Linked DNA regions of Homo sapiens: all the other regions are linked to region 3. The links are contacts of gene promoters, found by promoter capture Hi-C in blood cells and fetal thymus (Javierre and others, 2016). All regions are on one chromosome and are shown on one strand. Each heading gives the region's core, a stretch centred on a gene start or on the middle of the fragment in contact. The rest is flanking DNA. Distances are from core to core; before and after follow the strand shown. Region 1 holds the start of CDC27 (cell division cycle 27). Region 2 holds the start of EFCAB13 (EF-hand calcium binding domain 13). Region 3 holds the start of GOSR2 (golgi SNAP receptor complex member 2).

The links. Contacts are between HindIII fragments. The CHiCAGO score rates a contact against its expected background, and 5 or more counts as called.
Region 1: the fragment with the promoter of CDC27 here is called in contact with the fragment with the promoter of GOSR2 in region 3 in 13 of 17 cell types (naive CD8 T cells, activated CD4 T cells, naive B cells and 10 more); the score reaches 11.7 in naive CD8 T cells.
Region 2: a contact is called between a fragment that was not itself captured here and the fragment with the promoter of GOSR2 in region 3, in 2 of 17 cell types (total CD8 T cells and total B cells). The highest score is 7.0, in total CD8 T cells.

Annotation. Positions count from the first base shown.
Region 1 is chr17:47,187,228-47,190,711 of GRCh38, forward strand. CDC27 (cell division cycle 27) reads right to left here and starts at 2,068. Exons shown (of 19, transcript NM_001256.6): 1 at 1,919-2,068. The coding sequence starts at 1,945. It also overlaps a transcript of MYL4 not described here. RefSeq lists a silencer at 1,593-1,642 and enhancers at 1,676-2,272, 1,803-1,992. The HindIII fragment of the contact is 9,297 bases long and covers 1-3,484 here.
Region 2 is chr17:47,322,572-47,325,920 of GRCh38, forward strand. It overlaps EFCAB13 (EF-hand calcium binding domain 13), which reads left to right and starts at 1,384. Exons shown (of 25, transcript NM_152347.5): 1 at 1,384-1,503; 2 at 1,883-1,952. EFCAB13-DT (EFCAB13 divergent transcript) reads right to left here and starts at 1,330. Exons shown (of 3, transcript NR_110880.1): 1 at 1,118-1,330. RefSeq lists a silencer at 1,113-1,522 and enhancers at 1,863-1,952, 1,993-2,172. The HindIII fragment of the contact is 2,873 bases long and covers 442-3,314 here.
Region 3 is chr17:46,921,036-46,924,445 of GRCh38, forward strand. GOSR2 (golgi SNAP receptor complex member 2) reads left to right here and starts at 2,125. Exons shown (of 6, transcript NM_004287.5): 1 at 2,125-2,186. The coding sequence starts at 2,158. It overlaps GOSR2-DT (GOSR2 divergent transcript), which reads right to left and starts at 1,836. Exons shown (of 3, transcript NR_186460.1): 1 at 1,776-1,836. It also overlaps a transcript of LRRC37A2 not described here and the pseudogene RNU6ATAC3P. RefSeq lists an enhancer at 2,101-2,825. The HindIII fragment of the contact is 7,846 bases long and covers 1,696-3,410 here.

The DNA.
Region 1 (3,484 bases), core at 818-3,317, 270 kb after region 3:
CAAACAGGAAACCTGATGGGTACTATCTAGAAACAGGCTACATATTCCTTTTCTTTTCCATGCTTTTATTTTTTATTTATTTATTTATTTTGAGATGGAGTCTCACTCTGTCGCCCAGGCTGGAGTGCAGCGGGACCATGTCGGCTCACTGCAAACTCCATCTCCTGGGTTCAGGCAATTCTCCTGCCTCAGCCTCCCAAGTAGCTGGGATTACAGGCGCCCACCACCACGCCTGGCTAATTTTTTATATTTTTAGTAGAGACAGGGTTTCACTGTGTTGGCCAGGCAGGTCTCGAACTCCTGACCTCAGGTGATCCACCCGCCTCAGCCTCCCAAAGTGCTGGGATTTCAGGTGTAAGCCACCACGCCCGGCCTTCCATGCTTTTATAAAGTCTGAAATTATTATTAAATGGTGGTTATAGTCTATCAATGCAACTAGTTTATCACTTTAGAAGACTTCTGGGGCCAGAGAAGGCAAAAAAAAAAAAATCATTAACTATTAAAACAAAATTATAAGAATATGCAACAGAAATTAAATAACTTGAGTAATCTGCTTATCTATTTAAGTTCATGTTAGGCCTTAAAAAATTATATATATATAATTACCTCATCTACAGCCAGAATAAAAAAAAATCTTAAAAGAAACTATACTGGTAAAAAGAATTTGGATGGAAATAGCTCTAGAAAAACTAATACAACTTACAGACAGGTAAATTTCATAAGATATAATCTTACGTTTTATTAATTCAAACACTAATAGCTGCTATATGTAAACAGCTGGAGAAAAAAACCAAACTAGAAGAAATGAGTATTTCATGCTGTTTAGAAAAATGAAATAAATATGAAAGTAGTGATATATTAAAATATTTACTGTTTGATACCTCAAGCCTTTTAAGGGCAATATGAAGGAATTTCTAAAAATCAGTTTGCTTTATAACTTCAAAATAAAGTCCATGACTCAATGACAGCAGTTGATAGAGGTCAATTCTGATCAAGTTAAAGATCATATAGTGGGATGAAGTCTCCCAGACCTGGTCCATTACCAAGGCACAAAAGATACAGTTTCTCCAGATGTCAGGGGGGAAAATGACTTGGCACCGCATCACACACTTAAAATCCAATAGGGTTCCTTTAATGCAACACAGCACTGTGCGTCAAAGCATACCCTGGTGTAAAGGCAGTGAAATGGACAGAAACACCATTATTTGTGTTTCATTTCCTGAATGCCTTATAAACATGCACAACAAAATGCTCCTGATCCCCATCAGAGAGGATGAAAACAACCCAAATGTGCCCTTTCCACCTCCTCCCCTGGTATTGGTGCTTGCGCCTCAGCACTGAGGCTTGGAGTTGTCTTCTCAAACCATCATTGTCCGGTGGGAAATTCACCGAGAAAGGAAACGTGGGATAGGAAGTCTGTTACCAAAATAGAAATTAGTATTAAAAAGACCGATCCTACGCTCCCTCCACCCTCTCATACAAGACAAAATAAAAAAAACCTCCGTAAACTTGCCCTACCGTCACGAAGATCACACAAGCTCCGATCAAATGTGCTTCTCGATCATCTTTTAGGCAAGAGAGCGCTTGGGGTGCATTTTCGGCCCCTCATCTCCCACCCCCAGTCAAGCCAGGCCCCTGGACTGACAGGAAAGGCTGGCCGGACGTTGGCTCGGACGGGAAAGGCGGTTATTTTCGCCGAAGCCGCTCACGCTAAGGGTGAAGTAATGTAGGGCCAGAGGTAACACGGCTTAGGCTGTGGGCAAGGCCTCCGAACTGACTAAAGATAGGCAGGACACGGCAGCAGGGGAGGCGGGAGAAGCAGCCGGGCCTAGGCCGCACCAGGCCGCGGAGTGGCCCTACGCTGCTGCTTCCCGACCGAGGCTGCCAGCCAAGCCCCAGAGAAGAAGGTTATCATTACCTGGACGGGTTCCTGCAGCACCGTCATCCTCGAGGCTCAGGCCCACTTTCTGCAGTGCCTCAGGCCCCCCCTGTAGCGGCTCCGGCCCGGCCAGCCCCTGCTCATTTAAACTCACCAGCGACCGTTACCGGGGGATGGGGGAGGCCGAGCGATTGCCGAGTGCTTCCGAGCGGGACACGGGAATACCCGAAGTGGAGAAAGCCGAGCGGGAACCAGACGGAAAAGCCCGAAGGGAGTCGGAAATACCCGAGGTTGGTCGACGAGAGAGAAAACCGTTGCCGGAAATTGTCGAAGATTACCGGAAGCTACCGAGTCTGACCCAAAGCGTAGGTTTCTCTTCTCAGCCACGCCTTCAGCCACGCACACCACGCCCAATCGGCCGTCCCAGGGTTGGGCTACGCCAAATCTGCAACCAGCAGGCTGGGCGTGGCGTGACAGCGCGGGCGGGTAGCGTTACGTGGCGGGGCTGCAGTGTGGATTAGCCCCTCAGCCCTTTTGGATTAATTGGTGTGCTGTAGATTATGAAGCAAAGGGTGAAACAGCAGAGTTTGGGGCTGTCTTTAATGAATCAACAAGTATTTGTCTATTGAGTTTAGATCATTCGTCCATTCCAGAAGTATCTACTCACGGCTCTGGGGGAAAGCTAAAGAAATTTGGAAAGATTGCCACTCCCCAAAGACATAGGATAGCTTCTGTCTTCAAGGAGATTAAGGTCTATTTAAGGGAAAAGCAGTGTAACAGAGAACGCTATATTATATGGTGCCTATTATAAGTAATATAAAAATTCAGAGAGGGCAATTGTGATAAGATAAGGAAAGTTCTATGGAAGGAAAAAAAAGTTTAAAATGGAGTTTGAAGGATGGGTAAAATTAGAGGAAAAAGAAGTATAGGAAAGTGAAGGGAGGAAAAATGGGATCAGTCTGCTAAGAAGGCATTAATTGGAAATAGTTACTTAGGTGAAGAGATCATGGAAAAGCTCAATAGGCCATTAGAAATTTTTATTTTTGATAGGTGAGGCATTCCGCTGTGGTGGGAAGAGTAGGGGGTCGGAAATTCAGAGGCCTGGTTTTGAATTTTATCTTTAGCACTAACTAGTCATAGGTCCTTGGCAAATTACCTCTCTGAACTTATGTTCGCTTAGTTTGAAAAAAAAGGATTAAGAGAATTCGATGTATTATAAATGTGGCCGTGTCTAGCATGCAATGTAGACTCTCTCATATTTCCTTTCTGCTCCCCTTCTCCCCCCAAAAAGAGTGAACCAGGGGACTGTTTAAATTTTGTTTTTCAGCAGATGAGGAAACAGTTTTTGAAAGTTACTTTTCTAGTCAGGAGCTCTCTAGGCTAGATGTGAGAATCATGATATATTCCATTGCTTGGAAATTTCCCTTTGGGTGATGTTAGAGGGAGATATTTTTTCTTTCATTTTTAAAAACAAGGCTGACAGAGCTACACTGCATCCTTCTCCACCGCCTTGTCTTGTCACTGTATATATACTTATAGCCCCTAAAGGGCAGGTGCTAAGATGATTTTTGGCTGCCCTGTGCCCAGTTGCTTTAGCGGGATTAT
Region 2 (3,349 bases), core at 628-3,127, 400 kb after region 3:
AAAAAAGAATTTCTGTCATTTGTGACAACATGAATCAACATATGCAATGGATACTATTCAGCCTTAAAAAAGAATTTCTGTCATTTGTGACAACATGAATCAACTTGGAGGACATACTAAGTGAAAAAAGCCAGGCACAGAAAGACACATACCACATGATCTCACTTATATGTGGAATCTTAAAAAGTCAAACTCATAGAAGTAGACAGTAGAATAGTTGTTAGAGGCTGGAAAGGGACGGGGCGGGTAGGAGATGCAGGATGGGGAGATGCTGTTCAAAGGGTACAAGGTTCAGTCAGACAAAAGCAGCAAGTTTCTGAGATCTATTGCATAGTGTGGTGACTATAGCTAATAATAATATATCGTATATCTCAAAACTGCTAAGAGTAAATTTCAAATGTCTCACCATAAAAAACGTTAAACAAGGTGATGGATATGTTAAGCTTGACTTAGTCGTTCCATATTGTATACATATATTAAAATATAACATTGTACCCCATTAAATATTTACAATTATGATTTGTACATATATTTAATAATAATAAAAATCTAAATAAAATATTAAAGAATGCCTACAAAGCAAGGTTTAAGATGTAAATGAACACAGTAGTATCACGGAAGGGATTAAATATTGTAACATTTATTGAGCACTACGTATATATTTTTGAATTCCCACAACCCTGGAAGAATGAGAAAATCGAGACTCAGGGAGCGTTAAGTATTTTGCCCAACTGCATACGATAAATACATAGGAAAAACAAACACACAGAAGAAAACCAAACCAACCAAAGTATCTCTTTCAAAAGGAAACGACAGTCTCCTTAAAGGCAACCCGAGACAAATTTCAGCAAAGCCGTGGGACACATGGCCTTCGAGCTGCTGTCCATTATTGAGTAGCAGAAGCCAAGAAGGATGGAATGTTTTGGAAGAAAGGGGTCGGGGGTCGGGGTGTTCAAAGGACGGACCGAAGGTAAGATTGAAGTGGGGTCAGACCATGGCGGGACAGCGCACCGGAGAATGAACAGCGATTAGGGAAGAGTGGCGAGCGGGTGGCAAGGACGGAGGGCGGAATCCCGGCCGGGGCTGCGGGAGGAAAGCGCACGGACAGGAGCCCCACCGCTCGAATGCAGCGCCCGGCGGCTGGCCTCGTGAGGTCACAGGCCCTTACGAGGTGGGGCAGGCAGGCGCGGCCGCAGTGCCTTCCAGTCAGCGCGGAGGCGGTATTGAGTTCAGCCGCTCCCCACAGCCCCGGAGCCCCTGGGCGGTGGCGGTGGCCGCGGCAGCACCGGCTCGACAGCCGATAGGGTCCTGGGCCCGCTCCGCTCGGGGTGGTCGGTGGGCGGAGCGTCGGGCTCGGTCAGGTGACCGCGGGGGCGGGGCCGCGCGGCGCGGGATCCTGGGAAGGCTGCAGAGCTAGAGCAGCGCCGCCCGAGGGGCGGCAGGGGCTGACCACAGAGAGCGCGGGGGCCTCCAGCCGAGAGGAAGGGAGGGCAGCTCGGGCCGGTAGTGGGACCCTTGGGGGACAGAGGTGGGGAGGGGAGGCGAGACCCGCTGAGGAGTTGGGAGGGGAGCCTTCGAGGTGGAGGGTGGAGAATGCAGTAGGGTGCGAGGGAGGAAGGAGAACAGTGGTGGGGCTGGGTGAAGGAAGGTTCCAGAAAGGAACAGTGAGGGGACTGAGTGGGACAAAGGGGCAGATTGAAGGGTGACTGAGACTGATCAGGTGGTTCCTCAGAAATGGTGGTTGTTGTAGAAGGCTGGCGGTCCCGGGGGTGGTGTCACTTCCCTGCTCCTTCAGCGGGAGGCGGAGACCTCTATTAGCACACTCATTTCCATCTTGCGGGTCGTTCACTCGCTAGCTTACAGGTCCTCTTTCTTCCTGTAGAAGTCGTTGGCTTCGTAAGAGCAGGGTCTATGGGAAGCCTCCTCAGCGTGGGTTCTTGGAAGAGGTGGAGGTTCGTTCACTCGACGTTTGTTACACAAATATGAAAACAGGGTGACGAAAGTTTGAACGTTCATGAATGGCAGTAGCTGCAATGGAGTTGTGTATGCAGTTGGTATTAATGACGTTTTCAGTCCCTCTGGCGAGAGAAAAGCGAGCGAGTCGGGCGGCTTGTGAGGGAAATGTGGCATGAGAGGAAAGAGGAAGGTATTTTGTGAAAGGATGTCATACAGAGTCATGCTTCAGTGAAGACGCCTTTGTTTTTCTCATCTTAAAGCCTCACAGCCCCATTTTCCTCTCAGCTACTGCCTTATTTCTCTTAACAACGTAACTCCTTGAAAGAGCCTACCCTACTGGCTGGGTTCAATTTCTTTACCCCGTTCTCTCTTGTACTCACTCTGACGACATTGTCTCCTTACCACCCCACCCAGATGGCTCCTTTCAAGTTTGTCAGTGTCCTCCGTGTTGTGAAACCTAGCGAACCATTCAGTACTGATCTTAACCGCCCACCCCACCCCCCTTTTTTTTTTTTGAGACAAGGTCTCTGTCGTCCAGGCTGGAGTGCAGTGGTGCAATCATAGCCCACTGCAGCTTCAAACTCCTGGGCTCAAAAGATCCTCCTGGCTCAGTCTTTGGAGTAGCTGGGACTAAGGTCGCCATGTCCAGCTGATTAAAAAAAAAATTCTGTAGAGGTGGGAGTTTCACTGTTGCCCAGGCTGGTCTTGAACTCCTGGCCTTAAGCAGCCCTCCTGCTTAGACCCCCACCCCCGCATCAAAGTGTTGGGATTACCTGCATAAGCCACCATGCACAGCCTGATTGCTCACTCTTGAAGTACTTTCTTCACTTGGCATTCAGGAACCCAGACCTACCTGATTTCCCTCCTCACAGTAACCAGAGTGATCCTTTCAGAAAGAACTTCAGATTATGTAATCCTTCTCCTCAGAACTCTTTCAATGCTTGTCACTCCTTCAGAGTACAAGCCACAGTTCTTACTGTCATCTAGGGGTCCTCCATGATATGCCACTTTCACTTAGCCTCTCTGATCTCTCCTGCTTCAGCCTCCTGGGGCCTTCCCACTATTCCTTGAACATTCTTCTTGCCTCGGGGCTTTTGTACTTACTTTTCTTTCTGGCTGAAATGCTCTTCCCTAAGATATTAATCAGCTCCCTACTTCAGTTCTTGCAGGTCTGTACTCAAAAGTCTCCCTCTCAGTAAGGTCTTCCTTGGCCACCCATTCTGTTCCCTGCATCTCTTCCCCTATACTACATTTCATATTCCCCTCCCTGCTTTACTTTTTTTTTTGTACTTATTGCAGATAACATACAATATGTTTTATTTTTCTATTTTATTATTTCACTCCCTGACTAGAACATAAGCTTCATGAGGGCAGATTTTATATATATATAAAC
Region 3 (3,410 bases), core at 875-3,374:
CTCAGCTCATCAGAATACTCATTCTATTTTATAGAATAAGGTGTTGCCTGGTGCTAGAATCGCAAATAGCCAGTTAAGATCTGTAACTGTGTTGTATTAAAGGAGAGAAGGTTAGCACTCCCTTTGACAAGGATGGAAGAGGCCCTTGGGCCTGACAACACGCATACGGTTAAGGCATTACCACCTACTTCGTGGGATCTAACCATCGTTTTTGAAATGGTGCTGGGAAAACTAGCTAGCCATATGTAGAAAGCTGAAACTGGATCCCTTCCTTACACCTTATACAAAAATCAATTCAAGATGGATTAAAGACTTACATGTTAGACCTAAAACCATAAAAACCCTAGAAGAAAACCTAGGCAATACCATTCAGGACATAGGCATGGGCAAGGACTTCATGTCTAAAACACCAAAAGCAATGACAACGAAAGCCAAAATTGACAAATGGGATCTAATTAAACTAAAGAGCTTCTGCACAGCAAAAGAAACTACCATCAGAGTGAACAGGCAACCTACAGAATGGGAGAAAATTTTTGCAATCTACTCATCTGACAAAGAGCTAATATCCAGAATCTACAATGAACTCAAACAAATTTACAAGAAAAAAACAAACAACCCCATCAACAAGTGGGCGAAGGATATGAACAGACACTTCTCAAAAGAAGACATTTATGCAGCCAACAGACACATGAAAAAATGCTCATCATCACTGGCCATCAGAGAAATGCAAATCAAAACCACAATGAGATACCATCTCACACCAGTTAGAATGGCGACCATTAAAAAGTCAGGAAACAACAGCTGCTGGAGAGGATGTGGAGAAATAAGAACACTTTTACACTGTTGGTGGGACTGTTAACTGGTTCAACCATTGTGGAAGACAGTGTGGAGATTTCTCAGGGATCTAGAACTAGAAATACCATTTGACCCAGCCATCCCATTACTGGGTATATACCCAAAGGATTATAAATCATGCTGCTATAAAGACACATTTACATGTATGTTTATTGCAGCACTATTCACAATAGCAAAGACCTGGAACCAACCCAAATGTCCAACAATGACAGACTGGATTAAGAAAATGTGGCATATATACACCATGGAATACTATGCAGCCATAAAAAATGATGAGTTCATGTCCTTTGTAGGGACACGGATGAAGCTGGAAACCAACATTCTCAGCAAACTATCGCAAGGACAAAAAAACAAACATTACATGTTCTCACTCATAGGTGGGAACTGAACGATGAGAACACTTGGACACAGGAAGGGGGACATCACACTTCGGGGCCTGTTGTGGGGTGGGGAGAGGGGGAAGGGATAGCATTAGGAGATATACCTAATGTAAATGACGAGTTAATGGGTGCAGCACACCAACATGGCACATGTATACATATGTAACAACCCTGCACGTTGTGCACATGTACCCTAGAACTTAAAGTATAATAATAAAAAATAATAAAATAAAGAAAAAAAATCTATAACTACATTTCTTGTAATTTTGTCTTTTGAGAGTATACATATCTTATTTCCTTTCCCAGACCAGAACCTCTTTGAGGGCAGGAGGAACCCGGTTTTCCCTACTTTACACATGACACATAATAACCACTCATTCAATGTAGGTTTACTGGATGGATAAATAGGAATGGGGGGTAGATAGGCGGGAGAGTGAGTAGACAAATGCGAAACAGGAAAAGCTTGCGCCAGGAAAAACAGTGAAGAGCGAAATCTCCAGACCCCCGATTAAATGGTTTAAAGTGAAGCCAAGCAAGAACCTCCAGTCCTCTCTGCGGCAGAGAACAGCAGATGATAGCGGCTCGCCTTCAACTTTGCTCTGAGGACCTCTCGTTAGTATCCCGCGATTGTCCTTCCTAACGCCTGACTGAATCCTGAGGCTAGCCTTCAGCGAACATGTACACCGCCTTGCCCTTCACGTGAAGCCGAGCCTGTGACTACACTTATCCTTCCGTCGCCGGCCTCATTTCTCCTTCCCCTTCTCCGATCTCGCAACCACTGCTAGTAAGGCGCGCGTGCGGGCAGCCCTGGCCGGCAGGGGAGGGAGGGTCCTGCGACCGGAAGCCGGAAACCGGAAGGGGGGCTGTGAGGACGTGTTCCGAGGAAGCCAGAGCCGGAGCCGTGGCCTGCGGGGCCGGCGACATGGATCCCCTGTTCCAGCAAACGCACAAGTGAGGGCCGGTCGGGGAGCGGGCAGGGGCTAGACGAGGCGAGGCCAGGTGAGCCTGGCTTCTGGGGCTGAGGCCTCGGACGTCAGCCAGGGTAGAGGCCGAGTTTTTCCGCCAGGGCACTGCTGGGGATGCCTCCGAAGTGCTTAATCCTTGGCGGGACTCCCAGGTCAGCCACAGACAGTGGGTTCAGGCTGGGGCCTGGAGACGTGGGGCAGATGACTCCTGGGGTCTGCAAGTTCGTGACTACCTGCTGGGTAGACTGGGTGACGGGAAACTGGCACCTGCAGGTTATAAAACTTTGTCCAGCACTTGTCAACTCGGTGCTCCTGGTTGGTAGACCTCGAGAGGAGACACGGAGTAGGAGACACGGCCCCTGGCCGTAGGAGTGTACTGTTTAATTGGAGAGTCAGGGCACGTACGGGAAAGTATTTGTATTCTTATTCGATTTATACTAAAGACCACATTTTTATGGTACAAAGAAATTGCTGTCCACGTAGCATTCACTATTATTACTTGTTAATCGTATCTGGTTACAGGTTATCGCTAAGAAAATCAAATTGTAATTTAGTTTCTCATAACTTAAATTCCTTGGTAGTGTCCTTTATTCGCATCGTCCTGCACTTTCGGAATTGCTGAGATACGTAGTTGAGTATTAATGGGGCCATACTTACCCTATTTTTGGGGGCGGGGGGCAGAATTATGATTTTTACCCTGTTTTGGAGGGACGGAATTTTATGATTTTTATTTTTTATTGTAAAATATACACAACATAAGATTTACTGTTTTAACAATTTTTAAGTGTACAATTCAGTGACATTGAGTACATTCACAACTTACATCACTACGATCCATTTCCAGAACTTTTTCATCATCCCAGTGTGCCTGTTAATCAGTAGCACTTCATTTCTTCCTTCCAGAACACCTAGTAACCTCTGTTTTACTTCTCTCTATGAGTTTACCTATTCTAGATACTTAATATAAGTGGAGTCATACAGAATTTGTCCTTTTGTATCTGGCTTATTTCACTTAATGTTTTCAGGGTTCATCTATATTGTAGCCTGTTACCAGAATTTCATTCTGTTTTATGACGGAATAATATTCCGTTTTATGTGTCTACCACATTTTGTTATCCATTCATCTGTTGATGGACACTTGAGTTGTTTCCACCATTGGGCTGTTGAGAATAATACTGCTATGAACTCTGGTGTAGAAGTATCTGTTTTA